Regions from separate parts of the Homo sapiens genome. Here region 2 is linked to region 1. Evidence: promoter capture Hi-C in 16 types of primary human blood cells and fetal thymus (Javierre and others, 2016). All regions are on one chromosome and are shown on one strand. Each heading gives the region's core, a stretch centred on a gene start or on the middle of the fragment in contact. The rest is flanking DNA. Distances are from core to core; before and after follow the strand shown.

Evidence for each region. The method cuts DNA at HindIII sites, captures the fragments that hold promoters and counts their contacts. A CHiCAGO score of 5 or more calls a contact.
Region 2: a fragment that was not itself captured here is called in contact with the fragment with the promoter of LINC01801 in region 1 in 1 of 17 cell types (M0 macrophages); the score reaches 6.1 in M0 macrophages.

Annotation. Positions count from the first base shown.
Region 1 is chr19:34,830,095-34,837,353 of GRCh38, reverse strand. LINC01801 (long intergenic non-protein coding RNA 1801) reads left to right here and starts at 4,485. Exons shown (of 6, transcript NR_033982.1): 1 at 4,485-4,629; 2 at 4,818-5,024; 3 at 6,828-6,948. The HindIII fragment of the contact is 2,823 bases long and covers 4,158-6,980 here.
Region 2 is chr19:37,818,646-37,825,904 of GRCh38, reverse strand. LOC644554 (a long non-coding RNA gene) reads right to left here. Exons shown (of 5, transcript NR_040013.1): 2 at 6,288-6,408; 3 at 5,599-5,681; 4 at 1,999-2,094. It also overlaps the pseudogene WDR87BP. Among named protein-coding and RNA genes, the nearest start is that of ZNF573, 43 kb to the right of the region's middle. The HindIII fragment of the contact is 5,620 bases long and covers 835-6,454 here.

The DNA.
Region 1 (7,259 bases), core at 3,236-5,735:
TGGCAATAAACCTGTGTTGCTGTAGAGCCACCAACTCTCTCTCTCTCCCCTTCCCTTCAAAACCTAACAATAATAATGATAGAATAACAATAAGGCAAACCACCCAATTAAAAAAACTGGACAAAACATTTGAGCAATAATCCCTTTCCAAAAGTTGATTCAGAAATGTTCAACAGGCCCACCAAAAATGCTCAATATTATTAATCATCAGGGAAGTTTAAATGAAAACCACACTGAGATGCCATTGCACATCCACCAGAATGCCTGTAGGGATGTAAAGCGCTTGGAACACTTCTCACTTGCAGTAATAATATAAAATGGTACAATCACATTGAGAAAATGTCATAAAACTTATTATAAAAGTAAACATACACATTCTTACTCAGCACTTCCATTCTGAATTATTTCCTTGAGAGAAATGAAAACATGGAAGATTTCTCATTGCAATGATAATATGAAATGGTACAATCACATTGAAAGAATGTCATAAAACTTACTATAAAACTAAATATATACTTATTCTTACTCAGTGCTTCCATTCTGAATTATTTCCTTGAGAGAAATGAAAACATATGTACACAAAAAGGCTTGCATGACACAAAAAGCCTTGCATAGTAGGCAAAATTCATAAAAGCCTTATTCATAATAAGCATAATATGGAAATATCCCTGATACCAATCCACATGAGAATAGAAAAAGAAATTATGAAGTATTCATATTACTCAGCTATCAAAGAAAATAACCCCTGATGACAGACAACAAAAGTACAAAAGCACAGCATTCTGCTAAGTGAAAAGAATCCTTGCACAGGAATGCATACTGCATGTCCCTATTTATATGAAAAGCTAGGACAGCCAAAACTAACCTATCTTGGGACAATCCTTGAAGAATTGGAGAGGATTGACTGAACCTGGAGGTACAACTGGATCACAGCAGTGAGCAAATCAGGGCGTTGGGTCGAAATCAAAATACAGAGATAAATCTCTATAAATATAAACTGTTTTATTTGGGAAGTGAAAATTGCAATTCAGGGCACACAACTGGGCAGCCTTTTAGAAGAACAAATAGAAAGAGGTTTCGTTAAAAGAGCAAAGACAATTTATTTTGCAAAGACAACTCATTGGCACTAGTAAAGTTTTGGGGAGCTGGCAAGTTCTGATTGGTAAGTGATAGCAGTGGGTAAAAGTAATCATAGAGTCCGGCAGGTTGTTTCAGAAGCTACTACATAAAACCGTTTTTGGGTTACAGCAGGCAATTTCAGCAGCTAGGCTTGCAAAGAATTACATTCTTGGCGTGCCCTGAGTGTGTTTTCTCCTCCTGGCCTTCCAATTCTGTTTTAGTTGGGTATAACAAGAATGGCTCAATTTATATAATCAACTTTCACACTTGCCAGCCATAGGAAGCCAGGGCATCCTACCCATAAGTGACTCTCTCTCCAAGGGCTGAGCTGTTCTCTTCCTGTGCCGACAAACTGCTCCAGGGAGAGGGGATCTGGCTGATCCAACATGGGTCAAAGTCCCACAGTCCAGATATATGTGTCTCAGAAGGTGGGGGGTTCTCATGGTCCATGGACTTTCCTTCAGATAATGTTGGAATTGCTCCGAGAAGGGCTAGTGATTTTTACCCCTATGTTCACCATGCCTTTTCTGCACACAAGAGTGCTTGTGTCTTTGCTCTCTTCTTGCACTGCTCCTCCCGGCTGACCATCTTCCCATTCTCTGCCGTGCCCCTACCTTAACATTGTTTTCTAAATGAACCTTTTTCATGTTTAAAAACTGTTATAACAGTTAGAAAGAAAATCTGGCCTTCTCTGCCATTATTATGGCCAATTGCATCTACGTAGCAAAATCTGTTTATAAAACAATGATTTTAGAATGATATTCTTTCTACCTTTGCTTCGTTTTTTTCAAATCAAGTTTTGGAGGTAAAATTCAGCAATTTCAGCGGCTGCTGAGAAAAAAATTCAGAGTCAGGACCTGCCAATGAAGAGGGTCCCCAAAAAATACTCAGGTTTTCATGTAAAACGTCTGAAAGCCAGTATCCCAGAAATAAGGATAACAGGAGAGAGCCAGCCTTCAAAAAGAGTGAAGCATGGCTCTGACTTACATTAATCTCAGAATAAAGTGTGCTTTCCCATCCTAGCTGCCTTCTACATCCAAAGGTAAATCCCTTCAGAGGATTTATAGTAGCATCAATAAACATGAAATAAATCTACAAAAGACATGCAAATCGACAGGAGAATTCCAGAGCTAAATGTGAAAAGTTAAGCAATAAACCTCATAGTAGGCATCACTGAAAATTTCCATGATATTGGAAGTGATGCTGGGCAGGCAAGCCCAAATTGGGGCTTAGCTTGGGAGGGTTCTTTGCTTCACCCAGCAAAGGATTCAAGGGTGAGCTGGTGGTGGAAGAAGACAGCTCTATTGAAGAGGCAGTGTTACAGCTCTGTGACTGCTCCTGCAGAGCACGGTTACTCTATCGGCAGGGCGCAGAGAGCAGCAGCTCAGGGCAGTTCTGCAGTCATATTTACATCTACTTTTAATTGCATGCAGATTAAGGGGTGGTTTATGCTGAAATTTCTAGGAAAAGGGTAGTAACTTCTGGGTCATTGGGTCATTGCCATGGAAAGGAGCAGTAATTCCTGCATGTTGCCATGACAAATGTAAACTGACATAGCACACTGGTGGGTGTGTCTGATGGAAAGCTGCTTCCACCCTGACCCTGTTTTAGCTAGTCCTCAATTTGCTCCAGTGTCCAAGCCCCGGCTCTGGAGTCGAGTCCTGCGTCCTACCTCAGAAGTAGTCGAAAACATACACATGAATGTTCACAGCAGCATTATTTCTTTCTTTTTTTTTTTTAAAGAGAGATGGGGGTCTCACTATGTTGGCCAGGTTGGTCTTGAACTCTTGGTCTCAAGCAATCCTCCCTCCTCAGTCTCCCAAACTGCTAGGATTACAGGCATGAGCCACTACACCTAGCCACAGTAGCATTATTATTTCTAATAGCCAAACATCCATCAATAATAGAATGGGTAAATTATATTTGTTCAATGGAACATCACACAGCAATATAAAAGAATAAAGTGCTGCTAAAAGCAACAACATGGATGAATTTTATGAAGTGTTGAATGAAAAGACACAGCCACAAACAGGACACATGGTAGGGTTCCATTTATATAAAGTTTTTAAATAGGCAAAACTAATCTATAATGTTAAAAATTTGGGAGGGGCATAGTGACTAGGAATGAGCATGAGGTTGATTCTGAGGTGCCTGTGTTTTGCTTCTTGATCTAGATTACATAGGTTTGTTCATTCTGCAAAAATGTATTGAGGAATAGACAGATGATTTGTACACTTCTGTGTATGAATGTTATATTGTAAAGTTTCTTGAAGAATACCTGTTTACAAGAGTTAGAGAACATGGAAGCTCTTTCTCTGAGATAAAACATCTAAAAAGACAAAAATTAGCCGGGCGTGGTGGTGGGTGCCTGTAATCCCAGCTACTCGGGAGGCTGAGGCAGGAGAATGTCTTGAACCCGGGAGACAGAGGTTCTAGTGAACCAAGATCACACCACTGCACTCCAGCCTGGATGACAGAGGAAGACTCTGAGACTCCGTCACAAAAAAGAAAAAACAAACAAACAAACAAACAAAAAAGCCCTAAGTCATATCATGCCAGTCTCAGCAGTTTGAAACCCTCCATGGTTCCCATCTCTCAGTAAAAGGCAACGTTCTTATGACATCCTTCAAGGCCCCATGTAGTCTTTTGGTCCCTCTCCATCTCTGTCCTCCTGTCATCCACGTCTCCCACGTGCTGATTGGGTCTGGTAGGGTGACTGGGTGGCAAAGACCTCACAGAGGTGCCTTTCTGCTCAGGTGGCAAACAGGAGAGTCTATCTGGGCCCTGCAGGATGGATCCTTCCTGAGTCACTGAATATATTGGAGGTGCAGACAGCGCCAGAGAAAGGCATTGAGCCTGCCAGATCAGACACCGCCTCTTAGGGTCGACGGAACACCCAGGAGCAAAGACCAGAAATTGTGGGAGAAAGGCCTGGAAGGGGGCCGGGGAGAGGCACAGAGACAGCGAGGTGATGCAGGCTTGGTGGGAGCGGGTATGGTAGGCAATGGGGGACAGAGGGGCAGGGCACAGACAAAGCTTGCTGAAGATATGAAGAGCAATTGTGAGCCGGCGAATCCTTGGAGTAGAGGAGAAAATTGAGGTCTCCTGTTCAGCCCGATGCAGGTGAGATGCTGTTGGAACACGTGACAGAGAAAGGGTGTGTGAGCCCAGGGCTTGTGCACTAAGCGCACAGGAGCGAAGGGGGCGAGAAGAAAAAACGACGCCCAGCAAAGAGCGTCAAGGCCCAACCGCCTGCCCCCAACCGGTCTCTAGCGCCTCGTGACCTTCTGCACTCCGTTGCAGGCGTTTGGCACCAGATGGTCCCACGCGCTCTGTTCGACGGTTGGGGGCCGCGGACGCTGGTTGTCAGCAGCACTGGGTCAGCCGGTGAACGGGTGTGCAGCGTCCTCAGCGCCGCAGCAGTCAGCACCTGTGGGTGCTCTAGCTCTTTCCCTCGGGGTCACCGGAGGCAGAGCCTCCCCTACGCGGAGTAGAGGAGCAGCTCACATGGTGCGGGGGTGGGGATCGGGCTTCCTGGAAGGCTGGAAATGGGAGTTGGGATAAGGGGTTGGCGAGGGCGGGGCGGCACCGTCTACCGGGGTGACCGGTGTGCCCTGGCAGCCAGGGAGTCTGCTGCAGGGCAGGTATTAAGATTCGGAGAGACATAGGACAAAGAACCCTCGGCCTCTTCTTTTCAGGCAGCCGCCACAGAGGACACCAGATCATGCCAACACCCCCACAACTCCTGCCCGCCTGCAGGCAGCTCTGGGCTCAGGACACCGCCTGCAAGAACCTTTATAGCGCAGCTCTCCAAACCTTGGAGGCGAGGACATTCTATGTGCCCGCCCTGGAAAGGCCTGAACCTATAACATCTGGGCTGTGATGGTTTCTGAGGTGGACACCAGGTATTCTAAACTGCCCACATGCTTCACCCCAAAACTTCCCTTTCTAACAGGCAGTGTATTTTCACTTCTTTTAAAATATTTGGTAAAACAGCATTTAAGCCTTAGAAAGTTCCCCATCTCACCCCAGCCAGGGTTTGAACCCATGCTGTCTGATTCCACAGATCATGCATTTAACCACCAGACTTTGGTGTAGCCTCACCGTGTGTGCATAATGGATTACACTTGTTTATAATACTTGGGGTGCTTAGCACCATGTCAGAGCTGTAATGAGTACTTGCACTGTTAGGAGGTCTAACATGGTTCAATTTATAAGTGGACCATTGGCCACACCGGGTCTGGCTCAGTCTCCTGGGAGGATGTAGGCAGGGACCACCAATTATCAGCATATCTCCATGATGAATTTCTCCAGACAGCGTATCACTCTGTCACACAGGCTGGAGTCACAGCTCACTGCAACCTCGAACTCCTGGGCTCAAGAGATCCTCCCACCTCAGCTTCCCAAGTAGCTGAGACTGCAGGCATGCGCCACCACGCCTGATAATTTCTCTTCTAATTGAGCTTTGCAGAAAGCCACACAGCTGTCTGAGAGCTATTTTCTCCCAGGTATAGGGACAGGAAATGGCACCTCAGACTTCTGCAGATTCCACCCTGGCTTAAAAGCCCATGCCCCCAAGGACACCAATCTTTCTTACAATAACATAGACTATCTTTCAGGGTCCTGGCCAAGATGGACAACTTGCCAATATTAACTTTTCCAGGCCACAGGGATGATATATATCTCCATAGATTTAGGTCTTGAGTATTTTCTCCTAGAAATATTTCGCAGCAAGGGTCAGCACTGCAGCCTATGGGCCAACAAATTTAGCCTGTAGCCTACATGTAAGGCCAGTGAGTGAAGGATCCTATTAACAATTTTAAAGAGTTGCAGCAGAATACACAGAAACACAAAGAGTCTGTGTCACAGACAACGTGACCCACAAAGGCTATGCTACTTATTAGGCTGGTGCAAAAGTAATTGTGGTTTTTGCCATTACTTTCAAACCGCAATTACTTTTGTACCAACCTCATACTATCTGGCTTTTTAAGAGAAAATTTGCAACTGTTTTGCAGTTGTCTGTGCATAGATCTTCCACAGCTTTTGCTAATTTATTTCTAAGTATTCTATGGGGTTTGTAAATGCTATTGTAAATGGAATCTTTTAAATTTTAATTTTTGATAGTTCATTGGTAGAATATAGGTAATACATATAATACAGTCCAGTGTCGCTTTAACAATGGGAATACCTTCTGAGAAATGCATCATTAGGTGATTTTCGTCATTGTGCAAACATCATAGACTGTACCTACACAAACCTAGATGGTATAATTGACTATACTCCTAGGCCATATGGTATAGCCTGTAGCTACAAACCTGTACGGCATATACTGAATTTGAGGCAATTGTAACACAACGTTAAGTCTTTGTGTATCTAAATATATCTAAACACAGAAAAGAAACAGTAACAATGTCATATTATCTTATGGGAACACTGTCGTATATGCAGTTCATTGTTGACCAAAACCTTGTTATGAGGTGCATGACTGTGTATGTACATAAATGTATATATGCATACATATTGAGTTTGTATATTGAACCTCACTGAAATCGCTTTTGATTTCAGGTAGTTTCTTTGCAGATTCCATAGGATTTTCTACATACACAATAATGTTTCTAGGAATCATGTTTCTGTGAATAAAGCTAGTTTTCCTTCTGTTGTAATCTACATGCTTTTTATTTCTCTTTATTTCCTTCTGTATTTGCCAGGACCAACACTTGTCAGCATGGCACAATCAGGCATTTCTCTTCTAAGTAGGATGTGCAGCCAAAAACTCAGCTGTCTGTGAGCTGTCTTCTCCCAGGAACGAGGACATAAGATGTACATCAGGTAGATACAAGATCCATGCTAGCTTAAAAGCTTTATGCCCCAAGGGCACCAATATCACTTGCAATAATTCCATAGGCCAGCTGTCAGGGCCCTGGGTGAGATTGATAATTGACCAATATCAACTTCCCTAGCCCCTGAAAATGATGATGATGATGGGGTGTGTGTGTGTGTGTGTGTGTGTGTGTGTGTGTGTGTGTGTGTGTACTCACGTACTATATACATATATTGGCATATAGTAGTATATGGACAAAACAACTGCTTTTGATATATTTACTTTTGTATTGAAACCTTGCTCATTTTCTATTTACATT
Region 2 (7,259 bases), core at 2,395-4,894, 3.0 Mb before region 1:
GCTCTAGGCAGGGTTGCCACAGACCTTCCATTTGTAAAAAACACAGTGTCTGTGAAGCATAATAAAGCAACGCACAATAGAACGAGTTATGTGGCACTACATTCCTTGCCATCCCTCAGTCTTTCTTTTTTCTTTTTTGAGACGGAATCTCGTTCTGTCACCCAGGCTGGAGTGCAGTGATGTTATCTTGGCTCACTGCAGCCTCTGCCTCCCAGGTTCCAGTGATTCTCCTGCCTCAGCCTCCCGAGTAGCTGGGATTACAGGCACCCACCACCATGCCCAGCTAATTTTTGTATTTTTAGTAGAGATGAGGTTTCGCCATATTGGCCAGGCTGGTCTTGAACTCTTGACCTCAAGTGATCCACCCACCTTGGCCTCCCAAAGCGTTGGGATTACAGGCGTTAGCCACTGCATCCAGCTACATTCTTTCTTCTTTAACCAGACTTTACTTCAGCCTGTTCTAAATTACTACTTTATCCCTCTCTTCCATTGTAACTTTTTCTTTTTTGAATTTTGTTCTATCACTAGCTTAGTACTGTACTTCTTTTCCCTTGACTTATATAGGCAAGAAATTATCGGAGAAATCACTCTGGGCCAACTGCTGAATATTCAAGCTGAAGATATACAGTCCCTGCTTATTCATGTGGAGCAGCAGCTAAATGAAAACTTGACCTTGTTACAAAGAGAAAAGTCATTTACTTTTTCTTTTGATATACCATGGTCTGAAGAACTTAAGGTCTTTTCTGAAGACATGTGCATACCTTTGTCAGAACCTGTAAAGATCACCAAACCAAAGAAAAGAAAGAGACATTTTCAAGCAAGGAGCAGAAAGCTTAGTATGTATAGGGTGATATATGGGGCATGTTTGGGGCCAACCTCAGGGCCCCAAAAGGCAGGGTGGGTAAGGCCAAGGTATATGAAAGGATACTAGTGAGAATGGAGTTCAGTGGGAGAATCTTATTCACAGAAAGTGACATTCCTGAGAAAGATCTACCCCACAGCAAATACCAAGCTCTTATTTTGTTAGAATATGGATGGTGGGATGAAACCGAGCATTTCCATATCATAAAGCCTTAGTCCCCCTGCTTTGTATCTCTTATGGTAGCTCAATGAATTAGATTTTACAAAGGATCTTACTCAAGACCTCTGTGTTTCTGTTAACTGTTTTTCTCCCAATATCTCTGCAGTTAAAAAGGACCTGAGAGTTGCCAGGAAGCACAGAAAGACAAAATTGGAAATGTCTAGTTCCATGTTGATGCCTTCAGAAGATGCAGGTGAACAAAGAGAGGCCGGGAAATCAGAGCTAGTTGAAACCCAACATGTTACCTTAGAGCCAGAGCTACCACTGAGTTCTCTAAGCACAGTCAAATCCCAGGATTATGCTGAAACAGAGCAGGAGGTCATTTTACAAGCTATAGAGGCCATGGAGGCCACAGAAGCCCTGGAGGCCACAGACGCCATGGAAGCCATAGATCAAGGTAGCATGAAAGATTATGGAGATGTGATCTCTAAGCTGGAAAGAAAAGAACACATTAAAAGGCTTTGGAAAAAGTCAATGAGAAAAGGCAGAATTGCAGATGTGCTGTGGAAAGAGAAAAAAGATTTGAAGGATATTTCAGAGGTGACTACAGAAGAACCTAAGGAAGACATCGTAAAAATTGATGAGCAAGAAGAAGGTAAAAGCAAGAAAAGTGAAAAGAAGAGCCGGGGTTTGGCTGGGACTCCTGGACGTGCAGGTAGACCAGACACCAGATCTTGGAGGGATGGCATTTGTTCTTTTGTCACTTCAAGGATAGCAAGTTCCCATCCAGGAATGTTAAGGTGAAGGTGAAGCTCACTGGGTAGCTTATGCAGAGTATTTATCTTCCTTATAAATCACACACCTTTTCTCTGCTGTGAATGGAGATTTCCAACTAACATCCCAAGTGTATGTCTCTTCCCTGACCACACAGGTTGTTATTTACACAGATGGCTTCCCACAGTCAGACTTATTTTTACCTGTACACCATCTTCCTTTTTCTTCCCTTACAATCATCCAGGGCTCTTTTCCTTGCTCCAATGATGTAATTACATCTGGCTTAGAAAAGTCATGTCCTGCTTACAAAGAAAAAAAGGCCACTTGATATAGAAACATACTTTGCTGTCAAAATTACAATTGTAATAAATCAAGGATCAAAATGAAACTGAATAAGGTTTTTGAGAGGATGAGGAAATTAAAGAACAAGAAATCAGTTAGGTTGGGTAAGGATTTTAAATATAACCTACACACCCATATCTTTTTTTTTTTTTCCTGAGAGTACACATAATACCATGGTTGAAAATACAGACTCTAGAGCCTGGTATCAATTCCTGCCTTTACCACCTCCCAGCTGTGCATGACCTTCAGCAAGTCATTTAAATCCACTGGGCTTTAATATTCTCAACTGGAAAATGAGGATATAATAAGATTGTCGAATTTAATAAGGATTAAATTGGTTGAGACATATATGTGAAATGCTTAGAACACTACCTTTAATAGACACAGTGTTCACTACTAAGGTTATTATTGATATTGTTGTTTTGTTAAGAGTATACAAGAAAAGATATTTATAGGATATTCATTCCATTTAAAATGTAATGTTTATAGATGACAACTTTAAACCACAACTTTCAACCACGAATAAGTTAAAATTTGCTTAGGAAATAGAATGTGTTTGCTTCAGTTTTAAATGAATTCAATTTATCTAATCCAAAGCTATATACATTATAAAGGTTCTTTTGATAATTAGAGCAATTCAGGATCCTATGTCAAGGTAATCTGCAAGTGGATCAGATGCTATAATGGAGTATCCACAGTAATTCGGAGCATAAAGAAATAGGAAACCTGGATCCTTTTACAATGGTTATATAATATAGGCTGCTGAATCCTAATCTAGCCCTTCCTTATAAAAGAAGAAAGACAACTGTAACTATGACCAGAGAAAAGTTTGAACATCACTGAGGGACAGGGAAGATGAGTATGTCTAGTGAAGCTGTCACTTCCTACCCAACAAAGCCCAAACCACTTCTTTGGGGAAAAGGGAAAAGAAATTTAACTAGTCTCTTGAAAGACAGCCCTAAAAATCACAATGAAAAATCATCCTAGAGAGCAGATTCAAAGTTATCCTAAATTGTCTGAGGCAGAAAACATACCAAGTTACTACAGTTCTCCATCATCACATCCCAATACAAGGTCTTCTGAACATGGTCGAGACATTCCCACTCCTGCTGCGAGAAGTCTATGGCCACATCCCTGAATGTCATTGATGCCCGAAATGGCAAACCCATAGTGTTACTGGAGAAATTAAAGGAATACTTTCAAGATGGATGGAGGGGAAATAAGGACTGTATTGCAGGAAGAGAGCAATGTAACAAGCATGTTGTCTACAAATTTACAGTATGAGGGGGACTGAAGTGGAATGTATACGTATTTTTGAAAAAGACTGCTGGCATATAGAAAACTATGTGGCATACTCTAAAATACTTGCACCATTTGGGAATAAATAAAATAATAATGTTTGCCTATGAAAGTAAACAGTGAATATAAGCATAATGTCTGATTGGTATCTGCCATATAAATTTTTAAATACATATGAGTTGCTGGGGAAAATTTTTGCTTTTAAGAGGAGCAAAAAATTTAATCAGATATTTTCCCCAAATGAAGTATAAAGTCTTGATTATTATTATTTTTAATAGAGACAGGGTCTTGCTGTGTTGGCCAGGCTGGTCTTGAACTCCTGGTCTCAAGCAATGCTCCCATATCAGCCTTCCTAAGTGGTGAGATTACAGGTGTGAACACCTGGAATTACAGGGATTACAGCACCTGGCCTTGATTTTAGAAAATAGGGTTTACATAAAATTAAGAATTCTCTCAAGCATTAAATACTTCATTACATCAGATCTCACCATAAGCATTTTTCTCTTGTTTTGACAAATCCATGTATTTTGGGGGCACATGAGAATTATATCTTAGGGCAATATCAGACTTACTTGTTTACAATGCAGTTAGGATACACAACATTTTTAAGGTCTTCCCCAGTTCTAGGATTCTGTGTTCACTTGCTACTTATAATGACATTCTCTTTTGTGGCTCTCTACCATCTCTCACTGAGCACCTGGCTTGCTATATAGGTTACCAAAGATCCCCATCCGATAGTATTACATGCTTGTGTAATCTCCTTCCCTTGCACGTGGGCTGAACCAAGTGACTTGCTCTTAATAAGCAGAATAGCTACAGTGCTGAAATGTTACTTCAGCACTTTTTCTGTATTTCTCTCCCTCTCTTGATGTCTCATTTGCTCACTGATTAAAACACAGCCACCATGTTTTAAGCTATTCTATGGACAGACCCACATGACAATAAACCAAGAGCAGCTTCCAGGCAACAGCGAATGAGGAACTAAGACTGTCAGTCTGAAGCCTGTGAGAAACTGGATCCTGTTAACAACTAGTTGAGTGAGCTTAGAAAAAGATCCACCCCAAGTTAAGCCTTAAGATGACTGTAGTCCTGACCAAAACCTGGATCTCCTTGTAAGAGATCGAGAGCCAGAGAGGCAAGCTAAGCCATGTCTGGATTTCTGATCCAAAGAAACTGTGAGATAAATGTTTGCTGTCTTAAGCCATTAAGTTTTGGTCTAATTTGTTATGTAATAATAGATAACAAATGCATTGAGTTAAAGAATACTAAGGAAGAATAATGAATTATATACATGTCATCTAAATTTAGTAGGTTCCATCCAACATCAGAATAGTCCTGATATTTATTCCTGAGGGGTTTCTTGCCAAAATCCATAACCTCCAAGTTTGCAAGTCCCCAGTCATTTACTGAACCACACAAAGCATGAGATTTCACCCAATGAATGACTGAGTTTGATCATTCAATACCAAATTTTCATCTTCACTTCCTGGAAATCTCCAGTCGGTGATAATTTAAGTTTTGTTATGGATGGTCAAATACAACCATTGACTCTATCTTACCAAACTAGACTTGACCCAAAAAGCACAAATCTTTACTTAAAAGGACTTAACTCCACCACTGCCCTTGATAGAGGGCTCTTAAGACATGCTGAATAATTTGCTCAGTAATTACATGAACAAAGGAGGTTTATAATGGGACATATTGGGTGGATGCTGGGAACTGGAAGAATAAGAGCTGGAAGCATGTTATTTGATGAGCCTCTCCTGGTAGGAAATTTCAGGAAAATTAATAAAAATACCTTCATGACCTAAAAACACACACATATTTCTTTTTTTTTTTTTTGAGACCAAGTTTCGCTCTTGTCCAGGCTGGAGTGTAGTGGCACAATCTTGGCTCACTACAACCTCTGCCTCCCAGGTTCAAACGATTCTCCTGCCTCAGCCTCCTGAGTAGCTGGGATTACAGGCATCTGCCATCATGCTGGGCTGTTTTTGTATTTTTAGTAGAGACAGGGTTTCACCATGTTGGCCAGGCTGGTGTCAAACTCCTGACCTCAGGTGATCCACCCGCCTTGGCCTCCCAAAGTGTTGGGATGACAGGCCTGAGCCACCGTGCCTGGCCAACACACACATATTTCAACAAGGAGAAAAACGTGAACTTACATGGGCCATGGTTTTAGAACTGCAAGAGTAGATCAGTCCTCAGGGTTCCTCTACCAGAGAAGCACAGATCCAGAAAGCCAGAGCTGGAGGAAGAAGAAAGACCTTGAGACCAGTTTTGCATTAGTGTTCCTGACAGACCTTAAGTTACTTAATATTGCTGTGATGCTCTTCCATTCCAGGTCTCAAACTATTTCCCATCATACATAATTCGGGCAAATTGGGGTTCTGGATAAATCTATTTCCTCCCCCAAATCACAGAGGTCTCCACTGAACAAAGTCATAGAAGCGAAGCATTTCTGGGGCCAGGCACGATGGCTCACGCCTGTAATCCCAGCAACTGGGGAGGCTGAGGCAGGAAGATCGCTTGAGGTCAAGAGTTCAAGGCCAGCCTGGGCAACATAGTGAGACCCAGTCTCTACAAAATAAAAATCAGCTAGGCATGATGGCGCATGCCTATAATCCCAGCTACTTGGGAGGCTGAGGCGGTAGGATCGCTTGAGTCCAGGAGTTCAAGGCTGCAGTGAACTATGATTGTGCCAGTGCACTCCAACCTAGGTGACAGAGCAAGACCCTGTCTCTACAAAAACAAAACAACAACAAAACAGAGGCATTTCTGCATCACAGACAAACTATGATGTTAGCAGGGAGGTTTCTGGCCACTGTATTATTTTGGTGAGGCAGATGTAGACCTGAGATTGGGCAGCAGGGTCCTGGTCTGGGTAGATCCTCTTCTTTCTATTCCCATCTTAGAAGATTGAAGGCCCACATCGTCCAGAACTTCTTCTGTGGCTTTTGAACTGAGCAAAGACACTGGGGACAGAAAGGCAGCATTTAGTATTTTGGATCTGACAAAGCTTACTAGATATGGCAGACCATCGTACATGTAAAATGGGAAGCTGTGAAAAATACTTAAGGACACAGGAAATATTTCAGATATACTGTCAATAGAAAAATCAGGTTGGCCAATATAATCATTATTATAAAACATGACTATCAATACAGAGAAGCAGACGATTACTGAAATCAGTAAACAAAAACTTGGAAGGTTATATGGCCACCTATTAACACTATTTTTCTTTTTGTTTGACCTTGATTTTAATTTTTAAAGCCTTGTTCATAATTATTCCAATAATAACAATAGGTTAACTTGAAACACATGTGGGCTTTTTTAGTTTTTGTTGTTGTTGTTGTTGTTAACAGGAAGATGTTCCCCCAAAAGAAAGGGACTTGAGACAATGTCTTTGTTCTCTACATTTACGTTGTTATACTAAATGTCTTATCTTTTGTTTCCTTTGGATCCTATTATCTGAACTTACTTGATCATTTCTTCTCAGGTATGACAGAATTCTGTCTTGAAAAAATGGGGAGTAGTCCCTGAGTAATCTTTTGAATAAACTGATGGCGGTCACCACACAGCTTTATTTCAGATCTTCTGGACAAAAAGGCTTATTTTGTTTCTAAGCCTGTCAGATAAGTCATGTCCCCTCAGACAGCTTCTGAATTATTATTATTTTGTTTTATTTTTATTTTTGAGATGGAGTCTCGATCTGTCGCCAGGCTGGAGTGCAGTAGCGGGACCTCGGCTCACTGCAAACTCCACCTCCTGGGTTCAAGCGATTCTCCTGCCTCAGCCTCCCGAGTAGTCCCAGCTACTCGGACTG